Regions from separate parts of the Homo sapiens genome. Here all the other regions are linked to region 1. Evidence: promoter capture Hi-C in 16 types of primary human blood cells and fetal thymus (Javierre and others, 2016). All regions are on one chromosome and are shown on one strand. Each heading gives the region's core, a stretch centred on a gene start or on the middle of the fragment in contact. The rest is flanking DNA. Distances are from core to core; before and after follow the strand shown.

What was found. The method cuts DNA at HindIII sites, captures the fragments that hold promoters and counts their contacts. A CHiCAGO score of 5 or more calls a contact.
Region 2: a contact is called between a fragment that was not itself captured here and the fragment with the promoter of OXSM in region 1, in 1 of 17 cell types (naive CD8 T cells). The highest score is 5.4, in naive CD8 T cells.
Region 3: the fragment with the promoter of PSMD6-AS1 here is called in contact with the fragment with the promoter of OXSM in region 1 in 4 of 17 cell types (activated CD4 T cells, naive CD8 T cells, non-activated CD4 T cells and 1 more); the score reaches 18.9 in activated CD4 T cells.
Region 4: a contact is called between a fragment that was not itself captured here and the fragment with the promoter of OXSM in region 1, in 2 of 17 cell types (total CD8 T cells and activated CD4 T cells). The highest score is 7.3, in total CD8 T cells.
Region 5: a contact is called between the fragment with the promoter of ITPR1 here and the fragment with the promoter of OXSM in region 1, in 1 of 17 cell types (activated CD4 T cells). The highest score is 14.9, in activated CD4 T cells.
Region 6: a fragment that was not itself captured here is called in contact with the fragment with the promoter of OXSM in region 1 in 2 of 17 cell types (fetal thymus and naive CD8 T cells); the score reaches 15.3 in fetal thymus.

What each region holds. Positions count from the first base shown.
Region 1 is chr3:25,787,411-25,791,537 of GRCh38, forward strand. It overlaps OXSM (3-oxoacyl-ACP synthase, mitochondrial), which reads left to right and starts at 2,680. Exons shown (of 3, transcript NM_017897.3): 1 at 2,680-2,737; 2 at 3,580-4,127. The coding sequence starts at 3,611. It also overlaps a transcript of NGLY1 not described here. RefSeq lists enhancers at 2,159-2,688, 2,828-2,897, 2,908-2,977 and a silencer at 2,506-2,725. The HindIII fragment of the contact is 1,038 bases long and covers 2,014-3,051 here.
Region 2 is chr3:64,030,332-64,034,458 of GRCh38, forward strand. No RefSeq gene overlaps it. Among named protein-coding and RNA genes, the nearest start is that of PSMD6, 8.9 kb to the left of the region's middle. The HindIII fragment of the contact is 647 bases long and covers 2,068-2,714 here.
Region 3 is chr3:64,009,476-64,013,602 of GRCh38, forward strand. It overlaps PSMD6-AS1 (PSMD6 antisense RNA 1), which reads left to right and starts at 2,489. Exons shown (of 2, transcript NR_189168.1): 1 at 2,489-2,567. PSMD6 (proteasome 26S subunit, non-ATPase 6) reads right to left here. Exons shown (of 8, transcript NM_014814.3): 6 at 3,964-4,127; 7 at 1,403-1,480; 8 at 1,076-1,289. The coding sequence ends at 1,193. PSMD6-AS2 (PSMD6 antisense RNA 2) reads left to right here. Exons shown (of 3, transcript NR_038286.1): 2 at 222-278; 3 at 2,322-2,768. The HindIII fragment of the contact is 1,623 bases long and covers 1,593-3,215 here.
Region 4 is chr3:3,133,654-3,137,780 of GRCh38, forward strand. It overlaps TRNT1 (tRNA nucleotidyl transferase 1), which reads left to right. Exons shown (of 8, transcript NM_182916.3): 3 at 3,607-3,800. Among named protein-coding and RNA genes, the nearest start is that of TRNT1, 8.8 kb to the left of the region's middle. The HindIII fragment of the contact is 3,707 bases long and covers 603-4,127 here.
Region 5 is chr3:4,491,778-4,495,904 of GRCh38, forward strand. It overlaps ITPR1 (inositol 1,4,5-trisphosphate receptor type 1), which reads left to right and starts at 1,571. Exons shown (of 62, transcript NM_001378452.1): 1 at 1,571-1,828; 2 at 2,654-2,729. It overlaps ITPR1-DT (ITPR1 divergent transcript), which reads right to left and starts at 1,386. Exons shown (of 2, transcript NR_108075.1): 1 at 1,007-1,386. RefSeq lists silencers at 1,640-1,909, 3,208-3,502. The HindIII fragment of the contact is 5,640 bases long and covers 1-1,993 here.
Region 6 is chr3:5,181,786-5,185,912 of GRCh38, forward strand. No RefSeq gene overlaps it. Among named protein-coding and RNA genes, the nearest start is that of EDEM1, 3.9 kb to the right of the region's middle. RefSeq lists an enhancer at 308-357. The HindIII fragment of the contact is 4,107 bases long and covers 1-4,033 here.

The DNA.
Region 1 (4,127 bases), core at 1,430-3,929:
ATCCTTCCAACCCACCCTGCTCATTTGTGCAATAGTGATCTTTCTAAAGCACCCATCTGATCATGTTGTTCTCCTGGTAAAAAGTTTTCTATGGCTCCCTCTATCCACATTCTAAAGTCAAATGGTGTCAGGAACCAGGCTGGTAAGTTAAATATTTTAAGTGGCTTTGTTCAAGACAAAGAGGAGTAAGAGAGACTCCAGTGAAGGGAATGAGAGAGTTTACCATGTCCTTTCTAGAGGAGTTTAGAATCAATAAAAGAATGTTGCACTCCAAATTATACCATGAAGGCTAGCATATGGTCTCTGAACTACGGGATTAAATCCAAAGTCCTCAGTATGATACCCCAGGCTTTTGTGATCTGGGCCCTGCCTTACTCTCATGCGTTTACTGTTGCTTTGTCCCACACTTCAAATTTGACATGGGCCACATATTTAGCTGTTTGTGGAAGATACCATGACACTTCATTTCTCCAGGCCTTTGTTCTCCTCCTGCCAGGATGCCCTTTCCCACCCAATTTACTAGACAAACATTCATTTCCAAGATGCAGTTCAAGGATCATTTCTCTGAAGCCTTTTCTGACTTTACGAGGTAGCACAGACCTCATTGTCCCTTTTGTGTTATAATAATTCCACTATAGCACCTGTTTCAACAGTTTGCACTTACTTGTTTCTATGGGTGTCTCCCTTTACTAGACCATAAACTTCTTGAAAGCAAGAGCCATACCTCTACTCATTTTTGCATTCAAACTTCAAGCATTGATAGGAAGAAAATGAGTGGTTGTTGAAAATAGCAAAAGCACAGAGATGAGAAAAGTTAGGGTCAATCAAGACATGTATAGTGAGAAAATCAGTTTGCTGGGTGGCAAGCTCATTTAATAGAGAATGGGAGCCATAATTGGAAAGATAGTTTTGAATCAGATTACAAAGAATTTAAGGCAAACCTAGGAAGTCTTAATAGGAGGGTAGGATAAGCAGAGCCCATTTGAAGATTTTGGTGCAAGAAGACACGATGGAATTGTAGCAGGAAATATGGTACCAAATATGTAAAGCCATTAAATATCATAAAATTTCCCACCCTTTTCCAGATCAAAGAAAAGGTGATAAGAGGTAGATACAAAAATGATGGTCTTTTTATTTTTCTGAAAGATTTTGTCACCTCTTAGCCAAGACGATTTTGTGATATTACAAAAGAAATAGCACATTAAAACTGTATGTTTCTTATGAGTTCAGCTTCAGAGAAAATATTGTAGGTATTTTCACACTATTATTTTAAAGACAGCAATGAAAAGAGATCAAGTTTAGGTACTTACTCATCAAGTGTTACTTTATAACCACATGTGTTTGTTTTAATTCTTCAAGAAACTCTACTTTGTCACTGAATGAGGATCAACTAGAGGTGACTGGTTAGGCCTGGGACGAAGGTCAAACTGAGCTTTGCTGAATTATTTTAAACAAAATAGATTTCCAAACTCATTTAAATCCAGGACCAACCTGGAAAGCTAAGCTTGACTCACATTCTTCTGTAGGGGTAGGAAAGAATGCAGAGCACTCTACTTGGAAACAATGGCTTCAAGAGGCATTGCCCAGAAAAAACCATAAATATGACTAGAAGGTCCAGATGAAGATTCTATGCTCAACCATTTTTCTAAAGAAGAGCAAGGACAAAACTCACGCCTGGGATAGCATGTGAAAAACAGATGTTCGATGAATACCATCTTGTCGACTTCTTGCTTTTTTACATTTTCATGTTATATTTTCCCTTTATCGGTTTGCAGTCAGCTCTAAGCAAACAGTTAATGAATTTTTCACACTTAGAAACAAATGTCTCCATTGTGACAATGGAGACAATTTTTGAGCACTGTCTCAAATCTGGTGATAATTTTTTTTTAAGTGAAAGGAAGTTTATTAGGAAAGTAAAGGAACAAAGAATGACTACTCCATAGGCAGAACAGCCTGGTGACAACTTTTAAAAAGTAAAAACTTTATTACAAAAACATTTGTTTATTGTAGAAAAGCTTTATTAAATAAAGCTAAGCAAAAATAAGGAGGGAAAGATCACAATCAGTATACATCTTGCAGACCTTTAAAGAATTATTTTTGAAAAAACGGATATATACTGTTTTGTAACTATGTCTCCTAACAAATAGTCGCAACATCTCATTAATAAATATTCACCTGCAGAATTATTTTAAACGGCTGCATGGCATTTGGATGTACCACAAGATACACAACAAATTTCCTGATGTTGGCCATTTTGGTTAATTCCACTTTACTCACAATTACTAATAACGTTGCGAGCTATAGCAATAACTTTGAAACTGCAGAGAATTTCCTTAATTCTTTCTTACAATTCCAGTAGAATACGATGGTGTCCCTTCTCCGACAAAAGGGAATATTTGGGCATTATCACTGCCAAAGAAAAATGCCTTTTTGATGGGTGAAAATGCTACCTCATCGCGTTATTGGCAGGTCCTCGATTATCGGCGAGTCACTGAGGTTCCGAGAGGGGCGTCTCTGCTCACGCAAACAGCTACCCAGCCGCCTCCCACGGTCTGACCTCAGCCAAGGTGACGCGGCTTAAAGTCAACCGGCGGAAAGAGAGTCGAACGGGACGCGTGCGTGGGAAAGCGCATGAGCGTACGTGCGAGCGCGCATGAGCGTACGTGCGTGTGCGCGTGCGCTCGAGAGCGTCATCGCCCCCGACTGTGGAGAAGTGTCCGGGGTAGCCCCGTTACAGGTATCGCTGGCTACCCTCCTCCTTCGCCCCTCCTTTCCTCCTTTACATTCAAATCAAGTCGGGGTTGAATTTCGAGAGGGGAGTCCGAGGACCTGGGGCCTGATTTCTTTTTCTCTCGCCATGCTTCTTCGGGCTGTGTACATGTGTGGTGGTGCCTGAGAGGCGATACAGGGAATGGCTACACTCTTTTACTCCCGCCCCTGGCCTTCGTAGTACCCTTGAAGTGATCCACTAGTCGTAACCCCTCCTTCCACCAATGATTCAATTGGAGAAGTTTAGAGGAGTGGAAAGACTTGTCCCCTTCCCCCATCGCAAGCTTGGTCACAGAGTGTATTGCCAACCCATGTATCCAGACGCTCAGTCTAGGGCTCTTGGCCCTGGGTAGCGTTTTGAAAAGGCTGGTTATCCTTAAGTACTGAAGATTGATAAAGCCCACTTACTTACTTAAAAGAATATGCCCTGAAATGTGTTTTCTGTGCCACTGACACCAGAAATGCTATTTAGAAGAAGTTATCAGTAATCCTGACAAAGGATGCTTCCTGCAGCTCAAATCAGGCTGGAGGTGCCTTTATATTTTTCATTGAATTACTGTTTTGGTGACTCGAATGAATCATCAATTCATTTATTTGTCTTCAAATGTCTGACGGCACTTAAGGTCTAAAAAAGAAGGTAAGTTTAAACAGATAGTTTGATGTTAAGGTATAAATTGAAAGTATGTAACATTTTCCCTGTGTTCATTAGCAGCTCATATCAAGCACCCAAAGGAACACCTTGGATGTTTTTCCTTAGGCCCTTAAGCTATTTAAAAGAATACCTCCTAGGTGTGTTGTGGTCTTTTACAGGAATGTGTTTCTGATCATCTGAATCTTAATCATGTCCAACTGCCTGCAAAATTTCCTGAAAATTACAAGCACTCGTCTTCTATGTTCAAGATTATGCCAACAGTTAAGAAGTAAAAGGAAGTTTTTCGGAACTGTGCCAATATCCAGATTGCATAGGCGAGTTGTCATTACAGGCATTGGCTTAGTGACTCCTCTTGGTGTTGGAACTCACCTGGTTTGGGATCGTCTTATCGGAGGAGAGAGTGGAATTGTTTCACTGGTTGGTGAAGAGTATAAGAGTATCCCTTGCAGTGTTGCTGCTTATGTGCCAAGAGGTAGTGATGAAGGTCAGTTCAATGAACAAAACTTTGTGTCCAAATCAGATATCAAGTCCATGTCTTCTCCCACCATCATGGCCATTGGGGCTGCAGAATTAGCCATGAAGGATTCTGGCTGGCATCCTCAGTCAGAAGCTGATCAAGTGGCTACTGGTGTTGCAATTGGCATGGGAATGATTCCTCTTGAAGTTGTTTCTGAAACTGCTTTGAATTTTCAGACAAAAGGTTACA
Region 2 (4,127 bases), core at 1,141-3,640, about 38 Mb after region 1:
TTTTATTTTAACTAATTAATTAATACTTTTTTGGAGATAGCGTTTTGCTCTGTCGCCCAGGCTGGAGTGCAGTGGAGCGATCTCAGCTCACTGCAGCCTCGACCTCCTGGGATCAAGTGATTCTTCCACCTCAGCTCCCTAGTAACTGGGATTACGGGGGTCACCACCACACCCGGCTTTTTTGGGTAGTTTTTGTAAAGACGAGGTCTCGCTATGTTGCCTAGGCCGGTCTGGAACTCCCAGCCTCAAGCAATCCACCTGCCTCTGCCCCCTAAAGTTCTGGGATTACAGGTGTGAGCCACTGCGCCTGGCCTGTTTTTATTTTGAAAAAAAAAAAAAAAAAATTTTTTTTTGTTTTTTGCAAGGTGCACAGGAGGTTGGTGGGTGGGTGAGCTCGACGGTTTCGGGTTACAGAGGTTTCGAACCCATCCCTCTTCTCGTGCTGCGATTTTTGCTTATTCACAGCCCCTTTCCTCGGAAAAGCCCAGAAGTGTTTCAAGTGGTGACCAGCAGAGGGCAGCAGTATCCACCGCTTCCCGCAGAGCACGGCGTGCGGAGGTAGACTGTCTTCCGGTCCCACCCGGAGATGGGGAATTCTAGGCCAGGTGGGTGTGACGACGTGCAGCCCTAGCGAAGGACAGGGGTGCACGACAGAGGCACTGGATGGTAAGCACAGCATTTTCTAAATCTCACAGGAGAAAAATCACTGAAAAAAACCACTGGTGTAAAAGCTGAGTCTGTCCTTTGAACCGCTGCCCTGATTTTAGTTACAAATGAAGCAAAAAATCCTTAAAGATCCATATTCCTAAATTTAGACCTTGACCTCAAAGATCGCCTCGGAAAATATACAAATCATTGTTTCCTTCATTTAGTCAACTATCTATTGATTTGATCCCTACTTCCTGTTCAACTCAGCATCCCTTGTCATGGGCAAAAAAAGTGAATGGACTCAGACCATTGAAACAAATAAACTTAATCTTGGTTAGAAAAATTCCAAGTCAATGAATTTTAAAAAGTGAGTTAGTATCATACCAATTTAAGTGTTTTTTAAATAATGTTTAATAAGCAGGTGAATAATTAGCATTGGCCTAAGAAGGCAGCATTCTTAAATCACAGAAAAGAGGTATTTCAGCTGTGGCTGTATGTCGGACTTTGTGATTCCTTTATTTCTGATTTCCTTAGTAAGTTATTCAACCTTACAGGGAAACTTTTTAAATTTTACGTTGCTCTTTTAAATTAGCCTAAGAATAATAATGGTGCCAAAATCTTGTATAGCACTTGCTATGTGCTAGGTACTTAAGCATTACATATATATTAAGTCATTTAATCAAACAACTGTATCAGATAGATATTATATTAACCCATATTACAGAGGTTCAGAGAGGTTAAGCAATTTGACCAAGGTCACACAGCTAGTTCATGACAGAGTAGGATTTGAACTCAAAAAGTCTGGATTCAGACTCCATGCTTCTAGCCATAATATCGTACTTCTTATTATTAAATATTAGCCACAACATGCTCTCCACGAATAATGGCCTTCCTTATAGAGTCAGTTCCTTCTCCCTCCCTTGAATTCCTACCTTCGAGCATTCTAGATTGATTGATTACCCTGGTCCTCCCTACCTCCCTCCTTTCCTATAAAATGCCATGTCATGTCACATGAACCTTGACATTTAGAAGATAGAATTCTTTTGTTTGATTCAGGTTTTTTTCCTAAAAGAACATCACACTCGATTCTGATCTTTTTTTGGAACGCTTTGTTGATAATTTAAATGACTGTTTTGTGACTTTTTATAGAAGCCTAATTAAAAATGCATAGTTTAAAAATTAATCACCCGAGTCACCCAGACTCAAAACATCTGTCATCCTCCCTCCCTTTTTACCCCGAGGTAATTTTGCCAGGTCCTGTGGCTGCTTCCTCCTGTATATTCCCTAAAATGTCTCCTAAATCTTCTTTCTCATTTCAGTAGTGGCTCCAAGTGCTCCTTACCCCCAGCCTGGGCTTTTATAACAACCTCTCAACTGGTCTCCAGACCCCAATCCATCCCACAAACCACTGCCAGATGAAGCTTCTGAAAGCAATGCTCTAGCCGGGTTGTATTTTTTGCTCTGAAACCTTGCGTGGCTTCGCTTGTCTACGGAATTCAGTACTGAATCGATTAAGAGGTAGTCTTTTCACTGACTTAGTTTTACTGCTCCCTGGTACACAAAAATACTTCCTTCTATAGGTAAATTCATAAAGAAACACACACACAAAAGTAGAACAGAGGATACCAGGGGCTGGGGAAAGGAGAATGAGGAGTTAGTGCTTAATGGGTACAGAGTATCTGTGGGGAGTGATGAGAATGTTTTGGAAAAAGACGGCAGTGATAGTTGCAATTAATCCCTGTGAATTATGCACTTGAAAATGGTAAAAATAAAATTAGCCAGGCATGGTGGCTTGCAACTTTAGTCCTAGCTACACTGGAGGCCAAGGGAGGAGAATGGCTTGAACCCAGAAAGTTGAGACTGCAGTGAGCCATGATTGCACCACTGCCCTCCAGCCTGGGTGACAGAGCAAGACCCTGTCTATAAAAAATAAGAAATAAGAAAATGGTTAAAATGCCACATTTTATGCATTTTTATCATAATAAAAAATTTTTAAAGTATACTTTCTTCTAGTCCAATTAGATCAATTGCTCTTTTCTCTCTGAACACCATTCCCCTGCTTTTTAAGCTTTATACGAGGCAGAAAAATGTGGTCTCTCCTTATTGCTGACAACTATTTCTTGAACCTTGCAAGGCTTCCTGCTTCTTCCTTCTGGTCAGTGAAATATTAGAATAAAAATTTCAGAATGTCTCTGGTGGCTTTTATTGCTTTTCCATCACAAGTTTATAGGAACATTCTTTTCTTTCTTCTCAGTGAGCATAGGCTTCCTAAAAGCACACAGAAATAGCAAGACAAGTCTATTTCATGGACTCTGCTTTCTAATCGGATGGTCTCATGTGGAATATTGTCTCTGGAGAGGTCATAAATGGTTGTCACGCCATGTGTTGTGGAGCCTTATCTTCTCCTTTTCAAAAGCAGGCTGCCTAGTAGGTTTCCTAGACCATGAACAAGCCAAATTTTTGCTTGAAATTTTTAATATTCCTCTTTTTTTATTAATAGAGAACAATGATTCCAACACATTCAGCTTTATTTTAGGAAGAAATAATTTAACGCCTAACCCGTTATTTTTATTTATTTATTTAGAGACAGAGTCTTGCTCTGTGGCCCAGGCTGGAGTGCTGTGGTGCAATCTTGGCTCACTGCAATCTCTGCCTCCTGGGTTCAAGCGATTCTCCTGCCTCAGCCTCCTGAGTAGCAGGGATTACAGGCGCCCGCCACCATGCCTGGCTAATTTTTGCATTTTTAGTAGAGACAGAGTTTCACCTTGTTGGTCTAGAACGCCTGACCTCAAGTGATCCACCCACCTCAGCCTCCCAAAATGCTGGGGTTACAGGTGTGAGCTATGGCGCCCAGACTAATTTAGTGCCTAATCTGTTTAAAATGATGTTATAGTTTTTGTACAGCCACTTTGTTGTCACTGAGAGATCTCTCAATTTGAAGAGCTCACATCTGTAGAGGAAAAATTATAAGCAAGCCTTGCTTAACGAATTACGCTCTAAGGGATGAGGGACATTCTGGGCCCATGGCTACCCAAAAGCAACCCTCTTTATCTCCATGCTCAGTTCTGCCTCTGCATCTCCTGAAGTCTTCCTACTGAGGCCTAAGGGAAGTGAGGTTTAGAGGAGACCTTTAGCTCTCTGGAAGCCCAGGTGGAGAAAACTGGTGGAAGTATTTTTTCCCTATAGGCTGGGGAAGTACCTGGAGATGAGGCTTCAGATAGCCTAGGATGAGGACAAGACAGTGGCAGATGCTGGAAAGAATTTGACCTGCAGTCATCCATGACTCTTATGATGAAAGTTGATGTGAATGGTGCCTCCTGGAATTGTGCGTGGTGACACCTGGTTGACATTGTTTTCCCATCCTTCAAACCACTCCTCTCATCCACAAAAGACATATACATACAGCAAAAAACTCATCAGAGTGGCCTAAGACTTCTCAGTTGCAACACTGACAGCTAAACACAATGGAGTCACATCAA
Region 3 (4,127 bases), core at 1,239-3,738, about 38 Mb after region 1:
CCATCAGTAAATGTTATTTAAAGCAAAAAAACTCAAAACTCTTCTTTCCTTCCCTTGCCTTTTACAGTAAAATGCCATTTCCCATTCTCTTCTGAACTCACCTCTACCAAAACTGCTCATTAAGGTCACTAGCTGTCTTTCACTTAAGCCAAAAAGCCTAGGATCTCCTCTGACAAATTTTCTCCCCCTCATCCTCCTCACCCCATTCTTCAATCTTTTAGCAAATCCAGCTGCCTGTACAATCCATGCCACCGAATGCCGTAAGTGAGACGTAAAAGGTAAGCCAAATCCGCACTTAAAATTGCCAGTGACTTTCCTCGTCTTTCTTCCCTCCATACGTTCATGGGCTCTCCCTCCTTTTCACTTAAATGTCACCTTACCATAGAAGCCTTCCACAACACCTCAGAAGACGGCCTATACCCTGTATCTCTATCTATCTATCTATCTATCTGTCTGTCTATCTGGTTTTATACTTCTTATAGCACTTATTCCTATCTGACACACTGAATAAAACTGATAAAACTAATAAACTGTTTCAAACAAACAGAGGAACAACTTTGTTTTCCTCACTGCTATTATTACTATGGTCCTACTTTTGGAAAAAAGATTCAGTTTGCTAATAAATACTTACATATAAGGTTTTAGAAAACTGAGATCAGCCTTGGTAGATTCTGTAATCCAGGTTATGTCAGCTTCCTAAAAAAGAGTAACTTCCTGCCTTATATGGTTACTTGTTTCTGAGGGAAAGCTTATTACACATTTTCTTTATCTTCTATCTTTTGTATACTAAAAGTGGGAGACACTGTTTGTTTAATTTTAGGCCACTACTCTTCTTTCTAAAATCGGGAAGCTTACAGGTAAGAGATTTAAAGGTAAGCGATAATGGGCTGTGTCAACATCCGTATTTTACTGACGTATTTTACTGATGAGGCAGTCAGGAGCTGAACCTAGCTGAACCCAGCTGCAACCTTACCCTATAAACCAGATTTTCATTAATGAATAATTCAAGTGACATTATTTTAACATAAGTGGACCCGATTCTAGAAGGCCTATGTGTTTAAGAAAAAAATAAATGGAAAGAAACAACAATGCAGTATTTATTTTATACAGCTGACCTGGGCACATTGTGAAGTAAGCTATAAAAATTCCAAATAATTATCTCTAAAGCAAATCCTTTGTTAGTTACATGGCTTTACATATTAATTACTCTGGAAAGTTTTTGAACTCTGTTTAGTAGCAGATCTCCTTTCTTGATAGTTTCTTGGTACTGCCAGTTCTTGCTATCAGGTCTATAAATAAATTCAAGAAAAAATGAATTATTTACCAGTCACATTATTCCATGACAATAGTTGACCTACTTTTAAAATTTAGGAATGCCCCTTATTCTGAGAAATGAGAGTACCTGTTGGTTTCTACTATTTCATTCACTTTATCTATTTTGCAGTGTAGTCTCCCGGCAGCAATAAACCTGGACAGTTCCCTAATTTAGAGACAAAAAATAACAGAATTAGCTTTATAGAAAATTCTTAGAAAAATGCAAACGGCATTAAAATACTGTCTTAAATTTGTAACAAACATTTAGCTTCCCTTCAAGCTTGTTATTGCACATGCAGTAGTTGACGTTGTCCCTCCTATACTGCAGGCTTTAAGTCATCATCTACTAGAATAAACATGATCCTAGAAGTTCATATTCAGATAGATAGAAAGTAGATCAAACAATGAAACCATATGTACTCAGAGAAAAACTGTAGGTTAGGAAAAATTAGGGACCAAAACTGATAAAAACAGTAAACTGTTTCAAACAAAAGACCTAAAACAAAATTATGGAACACAGCCCATCAGTAAACATGTCAACAGCAATAGTATTAACATGTCAACAGCAATAGTATTTACTAAAACAACGACCCTTTCCCTCTCTAACATATCTTAGTCTAAACAAGTGGAAGGGAAGGGGAGAAATGATGTAGAATTATTGCTTTGCCCATTTTAAAAAAGGGGATTTCATCTAAAATGTAACTTTTTAAGGGAGAAAAAAAGAATAAAGAATCCATGACAACCCAGATTTGAAATTCTTAGGTATCACAGAAATTTAAAACAAGGCCTTTTTAGGTAACAACAACTAGAGCTCAGTGGTACAACCTTTGCCTCTCAAGCTGGTCTTAGAACATGAAGGGAAAAAAAAAAAACTGAACAAATACTACCTGAATTCAACTACTACCTGAAAGGTACCAGCTGCCTTGCATTCACTTGTCATCAAGATGACTTAAGGAATACTGCGGTGTGTGCCCCTAACTAATGAAGGCTTTATCTCCACATTACAGTTACGATACTGAAGAGACGTAACCTGACCAAGGCCACAGAGCTGGAAAAAGAAGCAAAGCCAAGCCGTTTTTCTCATGCACTGCTCACAACAAGCCCCTCCTTCCACTGACTCATGAAAAACACACTCATAATGCCCAGCCCGCACCCTAATGAACAGCCCTCTTAAGAGTGGTCATCAGACTTCAATTTCACAGACTAGAATTGAGAAATGGAACAAAACCTTGGGATACCAGCCTTCCATTTTGGTAGGGATCATTTAAAAAATGGTAGGGATCATTTAAAAAATGTGTTGGTGTCTGAAACTTACTTTGAAGTGGTTAAAAAACATAAAATGTATAGATTGTAACAAGCAAATATGTTAAAATGTACTGTACAATTCTTTCTTTACAATTTTATGGATGTTCGAAATTTAAAAAATACTAGAAAGAGAATGGTCTTATTTAAAAGAAATGCATCTTCATTTAAAGTTTCCACTGCAGACCATTGAAAACACCATCATCAACATTTAAAAACACCTACATGTGGGAGCCACTGATCTAGATGCCATCTGGACATCCCATATTGAGTATGTCTCCTACCCAACTCTACTCTCACCACCCTCGTCCACGCCACGGTAACATCTCCTCTAAGAGCTACTAAACAGCACAACTGGTCCTCTCTGCCACCTTACTCTATTTCTTATATAAAGACACTGCATAGGACCATGTAACTTGGGCTCTAAATCTTCCAATGGCTCCCTATCAAACTTACTTAAAACTCAAGCTCCATCCCATGACCTACAAGGCCCTACACAAATCATTACCTACCTAACTCTCCATATATTATCCTCAAAATCTCCTACCACTCCAACTATGCTGGAGCCACCCTGACATTTTCTGTTCCTACAACATCCAAGCTTATTCCTGGCTCAAAGCCTTAGCCTTTTCTATTCCCTTTTCTGCACGCAGAAGGACTCCATATGGCTGACTCCTCTCAATTCAAATCTCAGAGCAAACCTCACCTCCTTAAGCATGCCGTACGTAAGGATAGCATTTTCTCATCTCCATAGGTTCATTTCTATATGTGAAATTACGTTTTATATTTATTTGCTTCCTTGCCATCTCTTCCCTACTACTACAATGAAAGTGTGAAAAGGGAGCTGTAAAACAATACCAAACATATAGTAATGAATGGCTCATTAAGTATTTATTTGTTTAATCACTGATGCAAGTACTAAAAGTCCCACATTTAACAACCAATCTGACCAGAATTGCAGCAGCAACCTAAAAACTGGAAGGAATTATCAGAGGGAATATGACCAACTGTAAATATCAGATCTAAGAGTCATTACCGTAGCTGCAGTGTGGTCTACAAAGAAGTAACAGAAGACAACTTTTGATAACAACTGGTCTAATGACCTTTAACAAATCACTTAGCCTCACTACAACTCATCTTCCCATCTGTTAATGCAAGGGGCAGACATGACATGAGGAAGGCAGAGGCAACAGGATACGAATGTTTTGATAATACTGAGGAAAAAAACCTCTCCCCTCCCCGTTAAGATTGAGGGAACCAATGTAAACAAGTAAAAAATTGTACAAGTTCACATATTTTAAAAGGCAACTTTAAAACTTCAATTAACATGGCATTATTCAAACTTACTGATCAATGAATTCCACACCAACACCAAACGCTTCTGCCATATAGCCAAGGGTTAATGACCTATATGATTCCAGCAGCTGACTGTATGCATGAATTCTCATTTCTCTTACATAGTATCGATAATGAGGGGCAAAAAGCCAGTCCTTTTTCATTTCCTGTTCCAC
Region 4 (4,127 bases), core at 1,206-3,705, about 23 Mb before region 1:
AGCAAGGACTTGTTTAGTCCTTTGGCTGTTGTCCACAGGGGGTGATAGCGCTCAGTGTTATGTGACGTCAGAAGGCCATCATGTTAAAATATAGCACGATAGGGACAACTGATCACTCTCTTGAAGTCCGGAGCTCTTAGAACAGATGGTCTGTTTTTCTGTAGTAATGCTCACACCATGTCTTCCCACTCATAGCTCCCACTCACTGCCCCTTACCCCACCCCAGCCTCCAGTCGTCAAAATTTAAAGCTGTAAAGGGAAGACGTTCATGAAAATTTAATTAAAAGTTAACATTAAAAAGAGGTGACAGTTATAAAAGTTTTCTGACACATTAATGTATGGTCTTTTGAATTGCTAATAATAATTAACAATTGCTTACTATCAGAGGTGGCATTTGGAGCAAATAAACGTAGTTTGGGGATGATGAGATTCTGCATTCTTTGACTTTTAGGCTTAAGTTTACAGTTAAATTTAGTTACATTAGGTGTTATTTTCACTGAATTATTTCATTGAATGTAGCTCGCAAAGTCTTTTGAAATGTTGACTGCCTCCCTGTTTCTGTAAGATTGAAGATATCAGTAACAGGAATAAATAAATCTTGAAGCTTGATAGTCCCTGCTGTTTTAGGCCAATGTGAAATTATGCTTTTCTTATAATTTTTATGACTGCTCTTTCATATAGACAAATATGCCTTGATACGTCTTTCTCAGTTGTCTTAAATGTTATTTTAAAAATCCTGAATGGCAAGGTTTTTGGAATGGTTTAATAACATAGGCTAATCAAAATGGTGAATATATTACTTTGAGTTCTGGATCTCTTTGTAATGCAGTTAGCTTACTGAGTAAATTTGAACTTATCGTTTTATTTTAGTAAAGCCAGCATGAGAATCTTAAAACAGTAGTTATCTGTATAAATTAAGCCTTGACCTTCTTCATCCCACTGTTTATAGTAAGTTCAAGTGAACGTAAAACTTGTCCTTTATTTGCTTGAATTTCAGAACAGCTACTTGATACCGTTTTAAGAAAACTTAAAAAAACCCAATACTTACCAGTGAAGTCATTCTTTTTTTTAATAGTTAGAATATCATAATTCAGTTTAATTATGAGCCAGATTGGTATAAAGATGAATAAGATAGGTTTTCTACCCTGAGAAGTGGGGAGACAAAGACATAAAACAGGTAATTTTAATATAATTGGTATGTATAAAGATATGCTGTACTAGTCGCTTAGAAGAAATTCACCTAACCTTACCTTCAGGTGAGGCTTCCTAAAGTGAGTCACAACAGATAAGTAAGAGTGAGCTAGATCATTGTTTTCCAACTGGGTAGTTACCTCTTAGTGGGCCATGAAGTCAATTTAGTGGTCATGACCAGTAATTAAAAAAAAGAGAGAATAGAATAGATTGCATGGTACGAAGGGTAGGTTTTCTTTTATGATACTTTTGTTTGCCATGTAGACATACAAATTTTGGTGACTGCTATGTGAATGTCTTAGTGTGGGTTATGGGCTAAGAAGTGTGACAGCCAGCCACTGAGCTGGAGTAAGTTGGGGAGGTGTTTCAGTGAAGTGACTCACACAAGCAAAATTATGGAGGAAAACTGTGGGGAGAGTTTTGTGCAGACAGCTGGTACAGACAGTGTGATGCAGAGTTTAGCAAGAGATGAGACAAATAGGTCATGGAAGCCTTTGGATATAGCACTGAGGAATTTGGGTACTGTGTTGTGAGTAGTTAGGAGGAGCAGTTAATGCGTAGCGTAATTAACCTAGTGTTTTAAATCCCTATGTCTAGATGGTGGAGGCTGGATTTAAGGGAGGTGATGTGGTCCCAGAAGTGGGCTTTCATGGGAAATGTGGCATTAGGGGAATATGAACACTTCCCCTTGGGGAGAGCTTGTGGAAAAGATATCCTTAATTAAGTCAAGAGGGTAGGGAGCATTTGTTACTTTTAAGTACATCATTTTAAGGAGTCTACAGAGAATGGGGCTGAAAAGATGTGGGAAGAGTAGGTGGAAGAGGAGTGTGGGCAGGACAGAAAACAGATGTTGAGGTAGGGATAGAGGATTCTGTTTTGAGTTGTGATTAGAGGTGCTGGAACTTTGATGTATGATGAGTTTAGTTGAATGCTCGTGTTGCTGTCTGCTAGCCAAAGACCAACAGGGACACAAGTTGGGTTGTTACTCCTGGCAGTGAGGAGCAACATGCTGAGTGAGGAGTAGCATGCTGACACTGGAGAACCTGGAGGTATACTCAGTAAGAGGGCTTTAGAAATGACTTCTTATAGGAGTTGGGCTTGTATTGGGTCATTTTGGAGAGCATTTAAGGTAGTAGAGCTTTGCAGCGGGTTAGATGCTCTCAGGAAGCAGAAGTAATTCTGTGATTGGGTGTCTTAATAATGGTTTCCTAGAAGTTGAGTACAGTTGTGAGACTAAACCTAATTGGTAAGGCACAGTCACTGTTACCAACTATTGTAGGGTGTATCATGGACAGTGTTCATGTTTCGTGTATGTTTAGGTGATTACAGAGTTGTCTTGATCGATCCATCGTGGTCACAGAATGGGCTTGTCTGATATTGATGTTTTGTGAAAATGTTTCTGTACCACAGACCCCAGGGCCTAATATTGTGGCAGGCTAGCTCCTGGATGCCATTCTCACTAGGTTCCATGTGGACATATGGATATAGTTATAGTGGATTTTGCCTTATCCTCTACATATAGAGGAGTCAGCTATGTAGTTGCTTATAGTTGTTCAGTGTTCAAATGGTTCTACCTAGAGCACAGATAGGAGTTGATTTTAGAATTATATACAGACCATTTCTTGAAGATTTTTAGCTATAAACATTAATCATAAGTGGTATAGACTAATGTCTGATAGTTTCATGCGTGAACATCCTGCCTCAACATCTATCTGTAAACACAGAGAAATACAAGAACATGTTACCATTTCTAAAGTATGCACATAAATGGGGAAAAGAAAGCAGAATTGTTTGATTTACTTTCTTTTTTTTTCTTTTTTTTTTTTTTGAGATAAGGTCTTGCTCTGTCACCCAGGCTGGAGTGCAGTGGCACGATCATAGCTCACCGCAGCCTTGAACTCCTGGGCTCAAGCCATCCTCCCACCTCAGCCTCCCAAGTAGCTGGGACTACAGGTGTGCGCCACTGAACCTGGCTATTTTTATTTTTTGTATAGATAGAGTCTTGCTCTTTGCCCAGGCTGGTCTTGAACTCCTGGGCTCAAGTGATCTTTTCACCTCAGCCTCCCAAAGTATCAGGATTACAGATGTGAGCCACTGCGCCTGACCTGCTTTAGTCTTTAGTAATACTTCAAATTTATATTGATCACTTTGAGGCATTGTGGAATTCTGAATTATCTTCTGAATAAGCAAAGAATTCTGCAAGTTCTCTGTTTCCTGTTGGTCCTCAGAGGCACTCTCCTGTAGACAAGTCTTTTTACTTCTTTGGGCCTTGTTCTCATTTTTCATATGAAAAGCCTCAGTTAAATGAATCTCTGCTGTTCCAACTAGATGGAAAAGCCTTGTACTTTTGTGGTTAAAATAAACACATTGAAATAAAGAACTTGGGAATAAAAATCTTATTTTCTCTCATCTCAGAATTATTTGTCAAAGAGAATCACGAATTAAGAATAGCAGGAGGAGCAGTGAGGGATTTATTAAATGGAGTAAAGCCTCAGGATATAGATTTTGCCACCACTGCTACCCCTACTCAAATGAAGGAGATGTTTCAGTCGGCTGGGATTCGGATGATAAACAACAGAGGAGAAAAGCACGGAACAATTACTGCCAGGGTGAGTCAAAAGTTTGACAGGTAATTACATTGCTTTTTTGGTAATTTTTAAAAACTTAATTTTCTCTAGTTAAAAGCAAATAACGAAAAGTCTAATAAAAAAGTCAGTCTCTTCTATGCCCGTCATAAACCCTGCAGTCCTCTGTTCTTGCAGCCATGTTTACTTTTTATGTTACCTCTCCATTTCTAAAAAGACCTTTGTATGCTACGGGTATTTACTTTTCAGTTTTTACTATCCCAGTTTTAAGATGTGTTACGTATTGACTTTCCATAAGGGAAGATGATTTAGCTTTCTTACCACACCCTTCTCAACAACAAGCACGTATAA
Region 5 (4,127 bases), core at 321-2,820, about 21 Mb before region 1:
GTTTCATGAGACTCGATTTTATATTAAGGAATCCTGCTAAAAAGTAGACATATTCTAATAAGAATTTCCTTCAGATGGCAAAACTGGGGCAAAGAGATGAAAATGACTTGCCCAAGGGCTCAGAGGCTGCTCCTAAATGGGGAGAGAGGCTATTTAAGGCAATGGCGGTGGATTTCCCCAAAGACAAGGGTTTCATACACGTAGAGTCTGGAACGGGAGTCCAGGCTGTACCACTTAACTCGAGGGGTCATTTGGGAAGTTACCTGATTTCTCTGAGCCCTGGATTGTGCACCTGCCAAATAGATATAATAAATATACCTACAGTTGGTAAAACTCAATAGCATGACGCATGAAAACTGCATGTGGTCTGGGCTCAATAAAATCAGCCTCCCCATTGATTATTATCATTATTATTACTATTGTTATAACAGATCTTTAGGCGGCGTCAGGAAGTGCCTGTCTGGGATGCTATAATGCGTTTGGCTCACCACTATGCCCCAGCGCCTGGCACCTAGTAAACACTCAGGAAACGTTTGAGGAATGAATATACGTCATTTGAGGCAAGACAGGGCAGTCGGCTGACTGCCTCCGGGCTTAGCTCTTCCCCTCCTTGCAAAAGCCGGAGCCCTAAGCAGCGTGTAGCCCGGGAGCCCAGGCATTACTTGGCAGCGGGTGAAACCCACCTTGCCCCATTCGGAGCTCTTGGAGAGCGCCCCGCCTGGATGCGCATCTCTGTGTGAGCGGCTCTTTCCTAAGCCCTTATTTTTCTGGTTTGCGGTTTATTTACTTAAGCATTTACAGCTCCCAGGAGCAGAGGGGCTGCTAGAGGTACGGTCAGGACTGAGGTCGCGGTTTGTATTTATTTTCTGCCTCCCAATCTCAGAGCCGGCAAGTCACAACACGGCTCCTTTATTTGTGCACCGGAGAGGTCTGCCTTTCTTTACCTCCTCACGGGCGATAAAAGACAAGCAACTCGGGCTCAGAAAAGTGCTCTCACGCGACTTGCCTGTGTCTCCGCTTGCGTGGACCGTCGCTCCCAGGCTTGGTTTCTCGTGCAAACCCGAGCAGGGCGGAGCAGATTAAATAAAGACACCTCGCGCCTTTAATCCTTGACCGCAAACACTGGCGTTTTTGTGCCCCGGATTTCTGAAATTCTTGGCTCGGGGAACCAAGGCAGGGGGAGGGTGGGCTTGTAAAAACTTCCCAAAGCAGAAATCCGAGCTCCTAGCCCCTCCCCGGCCCCAGTGACACCTGGATTCCAGGGAAGGGGGGCAGCCGGAGGAGAGGCGTCCCCAAGGGTTGCGGGCGCTTCCCAGGGGTGACTTTGAACGGCTGGCTCCAAGCCCTACCGACCCCAGCCAAGGAACAGGCTCAGCAGCCTGAAAGCCTCGCAGGACGCCCCTCCCCTGTCCCCGCACGCGTCTATTTAGGGCCCAGCCCGGGCGCCCAGGGGATTCTGGGACTTGTAGTCCCTCCCCGCAGCCTCAGGCGCCGCCACGACCCGCTACTTGGACTACATTGCCCAGGGAGCTTCCCGGCCTATATAAGCCACCCGGAGCCGCTTTAAAGTGCAGTAACCATGTGGATGTGCTGCTGAAGCGTTTCCTCAAGCTCGCTGGGGTGGGAGGAGAGGAGGAGGAGGAGGTGGTGGTGGAGGAGGAGGCAGGGGGTGGAGAGAGAGAAAGCGCACGCCGAGAGGAGGTGTGGGTGTTCCGCTTCCATCCTAACGGAACGAGCTCCCTCTTCGCGGACATGGGATTACCCAGCGGCTGCTAACCCCTCTCCTCGCCCTGCTCCCCCAAACCGGCGTGGCTCCCCGGGCACCAAGGTAGCGGCTGGGGCCGGGCAGAGGGCGCGGGGAGTTGGCACTGGCTCCCCGGGCGCAGAAGTTTTTGCCCCGCTCTCGGGGAGATCTTGATGGATGTGCATGCACTTGGCATGCATTTGGGGGTTCCTTTACTGCGGGCAGTTGTTTTGGGGGGAGCTCATTTGAAGCTTAAAAAACAAATATCCTCTACTCTAGTGCGTGGCTTTGGGGGCTCCCCATTCTGGTCTGATGTGGCATTCCCCCAAGTTGGAAACTGTTGCTGCAGCTGCAGGAAATAGTTCTTTTTTTTTTTTTTTTTTTGAAGAGAGGTTGTGGGGGTGTCATATGTGAGTCTGCTCAAGGAAATAATCTTTCTAAAAATGTATCCCTCTCTTGCGCTCCGTGGTTGGGAGAATAATGCATGTGTAGGGGCCCCCCGTGGGGAGGGTTTTTAAAAACGGAAGAAAACCGGAGAAGCGGTGAGGGATGAAGTGTGGACGAAGCTCATGTCCAATGAGGATGCGGGCTTCGGATACTTGGCCTTCTCGCCGGGAAACAAGTGCTTTGGGATCTGCCAAACACTTCCCTTAGTTCCAGCCTCCCGCACGTTCGAAGTTTGTGCGTGCCTAGTCTCAATTGTCAGTTACATCCTGGAAATAAGTAAGCGTAGTTACCTGGAATCTTCGCCCAAGCGATCCCACCAACCTGCCTACCAAGTTTGGGGGCGGGGGGGCTGTCCCCAGTGAAGGAGGCTAAAGAAGGTGGAAACTTGTAATTTGGAGCATTTCTGTTAGAGCTCATCTTCCGCGGTCTGGTACTCAGTCTTCTTTCTTTCTAAATATTTAGGAGCTGACTACAGAGGAGCAGGATTTGCACCCCTCGCTGGGCTTGCTTTGGCAACAGAGTGCCTGACCCAGGTCAGGTGAGTGTGGAAGCCTGAGTGCTGTAGTCAATAATGAGTTTTTGTCCTAAGCCTATTTTAAGTTCTATCTAAACCGCCAAGGAGGTGGGGAGTAAGAAAGAAAAAGAAACTCCGTGGCTCAGTCTTCAAAATTTGCCTCTGCCTTTGGTGAGGGCTTTTGGGAGCAGAGGTCCAGTGGACAGTCCGTTTCTTGGAAGTAGCTGAGAATTGAAGGAGCCTGAAAGTTTATGAGAGAGGAGGGGAAAAGGCCATTAAATGGAGCAATAAAACGGCGGCCCATTGCCGGTCTGAAAAGCATGCTGATGATTTAAATTCTGAAGGATACAGTGCATTTCATATGCCAAAATGTGTAAGCAGTATTAACTGCCTCTCTCCTTCAAGAAATAGTCACTCTTTTCTAATTTTGAACGTGTGCTTAATCAGAGTAGGTTGGATTGCAAGAAATGAAAGTGGTTGCTGCAAGTTGAAAGAATTAGAACTTTAAAAAGGGAAGTGAGTTATTGAAGCTTAAGGTGGTAGCATCCAGCCCTTGACTCAAGCCACCTGAGTGTCAAGGAATCTGGCAGGTCCCTGTTGTTTTGGGGCCCGTGGTGGAATATGAGCTGAGAGCAGCATTTATCTGTAAACACAACAGTTCCTATTTTTTCCCCAAAATGGTCAGACTGCATTTGAAGAGTGGGAGGTTTCAACGGGTGCACGTACATCACTATTGCTGCAGATTTGGCTATCAGGAGTTTTTTCTCCTGAAATGTTCAGGAACATGGTAAATAACAGGGTAACAGAGGTAGGTGGGGGTGGGTGGCTGGGTCTTAATAACTTTTTTAACATTCTAAATATTTAGCTGTTCCCTGGGCTACAATCTTTGGGCTTTTCTAATGAGAAAATAAAAGTCAGACACTTCATTATAGTGGTATAGTGCTTTTGTTTCCTGTTGATAAGATCCTCAGGAGTACTGGCGGAGTGAGAAGCATTTGGATGTGAGAACTCTAGTTTCTTCTTGGAGTTCTGTTGACTCACATGGCTGTGTGGGTGCTCATAGAGCCAAGGATTAGGCCCAGTTCCCCTTTTCAGAATTAGCTGTACAGCAAGGAAAAACTGGTCCACAGACTCTTTTCTAACTGGTTGCTAAAAATAATAAGATGGACACATTAAGTACTTGTAAGCCAGGTCCAGAGCCATGTATCTCAGAAACCCTGTGCGTCAGATGCAGGTGAAGAAACTGAGGTGCAGAGAGTGAAATCACTTGCCCAGTAGCTAGTACAAAGTAGGAGCAGGGTGTAACCTCAGGCGGTGAGGCTGTACTGCATCCCACAAATGGACCTCAGTTGATTTGGGGATGCTGGTGGTGAGAGGGAAGCTAGGAAAAATGGTAAACTTACTGCTACTGATGAAATAACT
Region 6 (4,127 bases), core at 730-3,229, about 21 Mb before region 1:
CAGTGGGGAAAGCACGATGTTTGATGTTTAAAATGTTTTTGTTATGTTACAGACTTTTAAGGTTATGCCCTCAACTGTGCATAGCAGTGAAGAGACTTGAAAAGGAAGACAGTAAAGCCTTACAGACTTCCCTTAAGTTTGCTGCTCTATAAGTATGCAGCCTGCTGCAGGTGTTTCCTGTTGGTTAGTAAATAACCTCCACACATTGGCTGTTTAAAATTCAGCTATTAATAAAAATGTGTACTTTTGTCATTGCTCCTCTTGGGTGTTCTTAGGGAAACCAAAGCAGGTCATTGTCATGGTAGACAGACTGCAATAGGACTCTCTTAAAAATCTAAGCCACAGCAGTAGTCATTTATTATTCCATTCTATTAACCAGCCCTCTCTTCAGTAAGATAATTCTATTTTGAAATCCCAAGGCATCTGGCATTTAGGTAATGCAGATTTCCCAATAATCAGGAGGGGGAAAAGATACTTTAGCTTCATTTTACTGGGGCTTACAGTAGGGATGTAGGAAAAGAGTTGTTAGCTTACGATGCTAATATAGCTTAATTCTGTGGAGAGTACTGGGTTGGCATTTGGGAGAATGGGTTCTTTCCTTGGCCATTAACTGACTGTGTGACTGGTGAGTTGCAGAACCCCCTCATGGCTCCTTAAGTTTTCCCATCTATAAAATGAACAGGAGAGGATTTCTAACCATAACTTCTGCCACTGACAGGCTGATTCTAGCAGCCTAGAAATTTGCTTGGTGGTTAAAAAGAGATACAAAAACACCGATTTGGCCTAGTGAATATGTTAATATTACATGTTCCTTCAATAGAAGGTAATTCAAAAATACAGAAATATTTACATGTTACAACTTTAAATTTTAGCACAAAAGCTGGAGATTGCAGACATTTTACAGAATGATACAGTAAATTTATTTTGTTTGAAGGAAATTCTGTAAATATACCGGCTTATATTTTGAAAGGCATTTACAAATTTTAGAACATTTTCCCCAGACTGCAGAAAATGTTTGGTATGCACTCCAGAAAAGTGTATATACCTACTACCAATTTGAGGGTAGGTGGTTTAGAGCTAAGGTTTAATCCTTTATAACTGCTGTGTTGCTGGGTTTTTGGGGGTTTTTTTGTTTGTTTGTTTTGAGATGGAGTCTCACTCTGTTGCCCAGGCTGGAGTGCAGTGGCGCCATCTCAGCTCACTGCAAGCTCCGCCTCTCGGGTTCCCGCCATTCTCCTGCCTCAGCCTCCCGAGTAGCTGGGACTGTAGGCGCCCGCCGCCACGCCTGGCTAATTTTTTAATATTTTTAGTAGGGACGGGGTTTCACCATGGTCTCGATCTCCTGACCTTGTGATCCGCCCACCTCAGCTTCCCAGAGTGCTGGGATTACAGGTATGAGCCACCATGCCCGGCCAGCTAGGTTCTGCTAGAATTTATCCAGAGCTTTGGAGAAACCTGGAATGGTTAGAAAATACTACTCTTAAAAGTAAAGGGGCTGGAGGACCAACAAAACCATTGTATCCCCTTTTGGACTTGGGAAGTAGAACATTAACCACTTGCTAATTATAGCATCTCCCTTAACCAATTCTTATCTACAATTGTGACTTACCCTCAGTGTTGTACAATGTGTATCACACAATGTGCTAGCTTGTTTCTGTGGCTTAAGAGAATTCACCATTTCTATCTACTACCCAATAGGTGAATTAGATAACTCTTCCATTTGTATATTTTATTCTGTAAGAAAAATTCAAATTGCTCTTATTTGTCATACTATTAGCTAATTTATAAGCGCTAGCCCTCATTCAAAGAAGGGTTAAGGATTTATAGAATTCCTATATTCTCTGGAAGCATCAGTAACCTAAAGGCTAGAGCATGGTATGGGCATGTGCATGATGAATATTTTTGATGTATAGTTCATATATTTGTTTCAGTGGTTTGGTGTTAGAACTGCTAGAAGGGAATCTCACTATCTTTTCTTCCTTTTTGAGATAGTCTTGCTCTGTCATCAGGCTGGAGTTCAGTGGCGCAATCTCGACTCACTGCAACGTCCGCCTCCTGGGTTCAAGCAATTCTCCTACCTCAGCCTCCCAAGTAGCTGGGACTACGGGCATGTGCCACTATGCCAAGCTGATTTTTGTAGTTTTAGTGCAGATGGGGTTTCACCATGTTGGCCAGGCTAGTCTTGAACTCTGACCTCAAGTGATCCACCCGCCTCAGCCTCCCAAAGTGCTGGGATTACCGGCGTGAGCCACCGCGCCTGGCGACTTGTGCTAACGTTAAACCAAAATTATGGGGGGTCATTGTTTGTGGACTGAGTTTCTGCACTAGGTCCTAGCAGACCAAAGTAGTTACATATATTAAGTGCCACACAGTTACATGGAAACTTTACAGACCAGTTTTTCCTGAAAACAGAAAATCCCAGTCTGTCTGAATCAGAATAATAAGGAAGTCCCTTCTTCTTTAACCCTTAAAAAAAAAGTAACCCGATGTTAACCAATCAGTTATTTTTCATTGTTTTGTTTCCTTGCTCTCATCTTACAAAACCCACTATTCTGCTGTTTCTCATTGGGAGCTTTCATTCTGTTTTGTAGAATGGAGGCTGCCCCATTCATAAGTTATGAATAAACGCCAGTTAGATCTGTAAGTAAATTTGTTGTAATTTTTTTCTGACACTAGGAATTGCCAAATGACCCTTCACACGGGAAGTACTAGTTTTTGTTTTTACCAGTCCCAGTCCCCTATGCCTTTTTAAAAAAGAGATGAAGTCTCACTGTTACCCAGGTAATTGCATTGGCTATTTACAGCCACGATCATAGGAAACGCAGCTTCAAACTACTGGCTCAGGGGATCTTCCTGCCTCAGCCTCTCGAGTATCCTGTATCTTGCTAACAGAGCATGTTGACAAACTTGGATTTGTGCCCATCAAATAAGTTTGAACTGTAATTATATACTTTTTTTTAGGCCTTCAGCTTTGCAAAACCTCTGCTTTTGAAATACTTTTTTTTTTTTGAGACGCAGTCTCACTCTCTTGCCCAGAATGGAGTGTGGTGGCGCTATCTCAGCTCACTGCAACCTCTGCCTCCTGGATTCAAGTGATTCTCGTGCCTCAGCCTCCTGAGTATCTGGGATTACAGACGCCCACCACCACGCCCGGGTAGTTGTATTTTTAGTAGAGATGGGGTTTCATCATTTTGGCCAGGTTGGTCTTGAACTCCGGACCTTAAGTGATCTGCCTGCCTTGGCCTCCCAAAGTTCTGGGATTACAGGTGTGAGCCACCACGCCCAGCCGGGTGCTAGTTTTAAAAGTTTCAGAGTTGAAAAGTATTAATAGGTCTCACTATGTAGCACGGTTGTAAGTACTTTATATATATATATGATGTAATCACAACTGTGATAAACATTGTCCTCATCACTCACCCATTTTATGGATGAGGAAACAAGTCCTAGAAAAGTAACTTCCCAAGGTCACTCTTAGGGCAGAGCTACGATTTGAACACCTGACTTCTGAATGTGAGTTCTTAGTTGTCATCTCTTTGCATTCCCCAGAGTAAAGCCATTTTTACACTGAAAAAGTGCCTCCTTTCCTTTTTTATCAGTCCCTGATGCGCTTGTGAGATTACCGGAAAACCTGTCACAAATCAAACTGTTTATCTTAAAGAGTTGATTTTCAAGACTGGAGTTTTCTGATTGGGTATGGGTGTTGTCCCAATCTTATCAGTACATTTAGCTTAAGGAGAGTCCTAATCGAAAGGACTAGCACAAAATAACCCATTTCTTTCATTTCAGTTTCATTCCAGAAGGAAACACTTTCTGAACCTAGACCCTAATGCCTAGGCTATGCCTTGCAGGGCACTAATGTCAAAACTATTGCTTTTGGGTGGCTTGGAAAGAGCAGAGGGACCTGTCTGCTCAAGGGCCAGCTATTTGAAGTGCAAATTGCCCTAAAGTGTAGTAACTCCCTTTCTGCCTAGAGCCAACAGGCTCTGAGAATTGAGCCCCCAACCTGATTTCTTCCATTATGGCTTGTGGAATAAGCTTTACAGTTTTCTATGAAGATTAAATAAGCACACATGTCAAAGTGTTTTGAAAACCATCAGTTTTACTATGAAAAGCATCTTTCAGGAGTT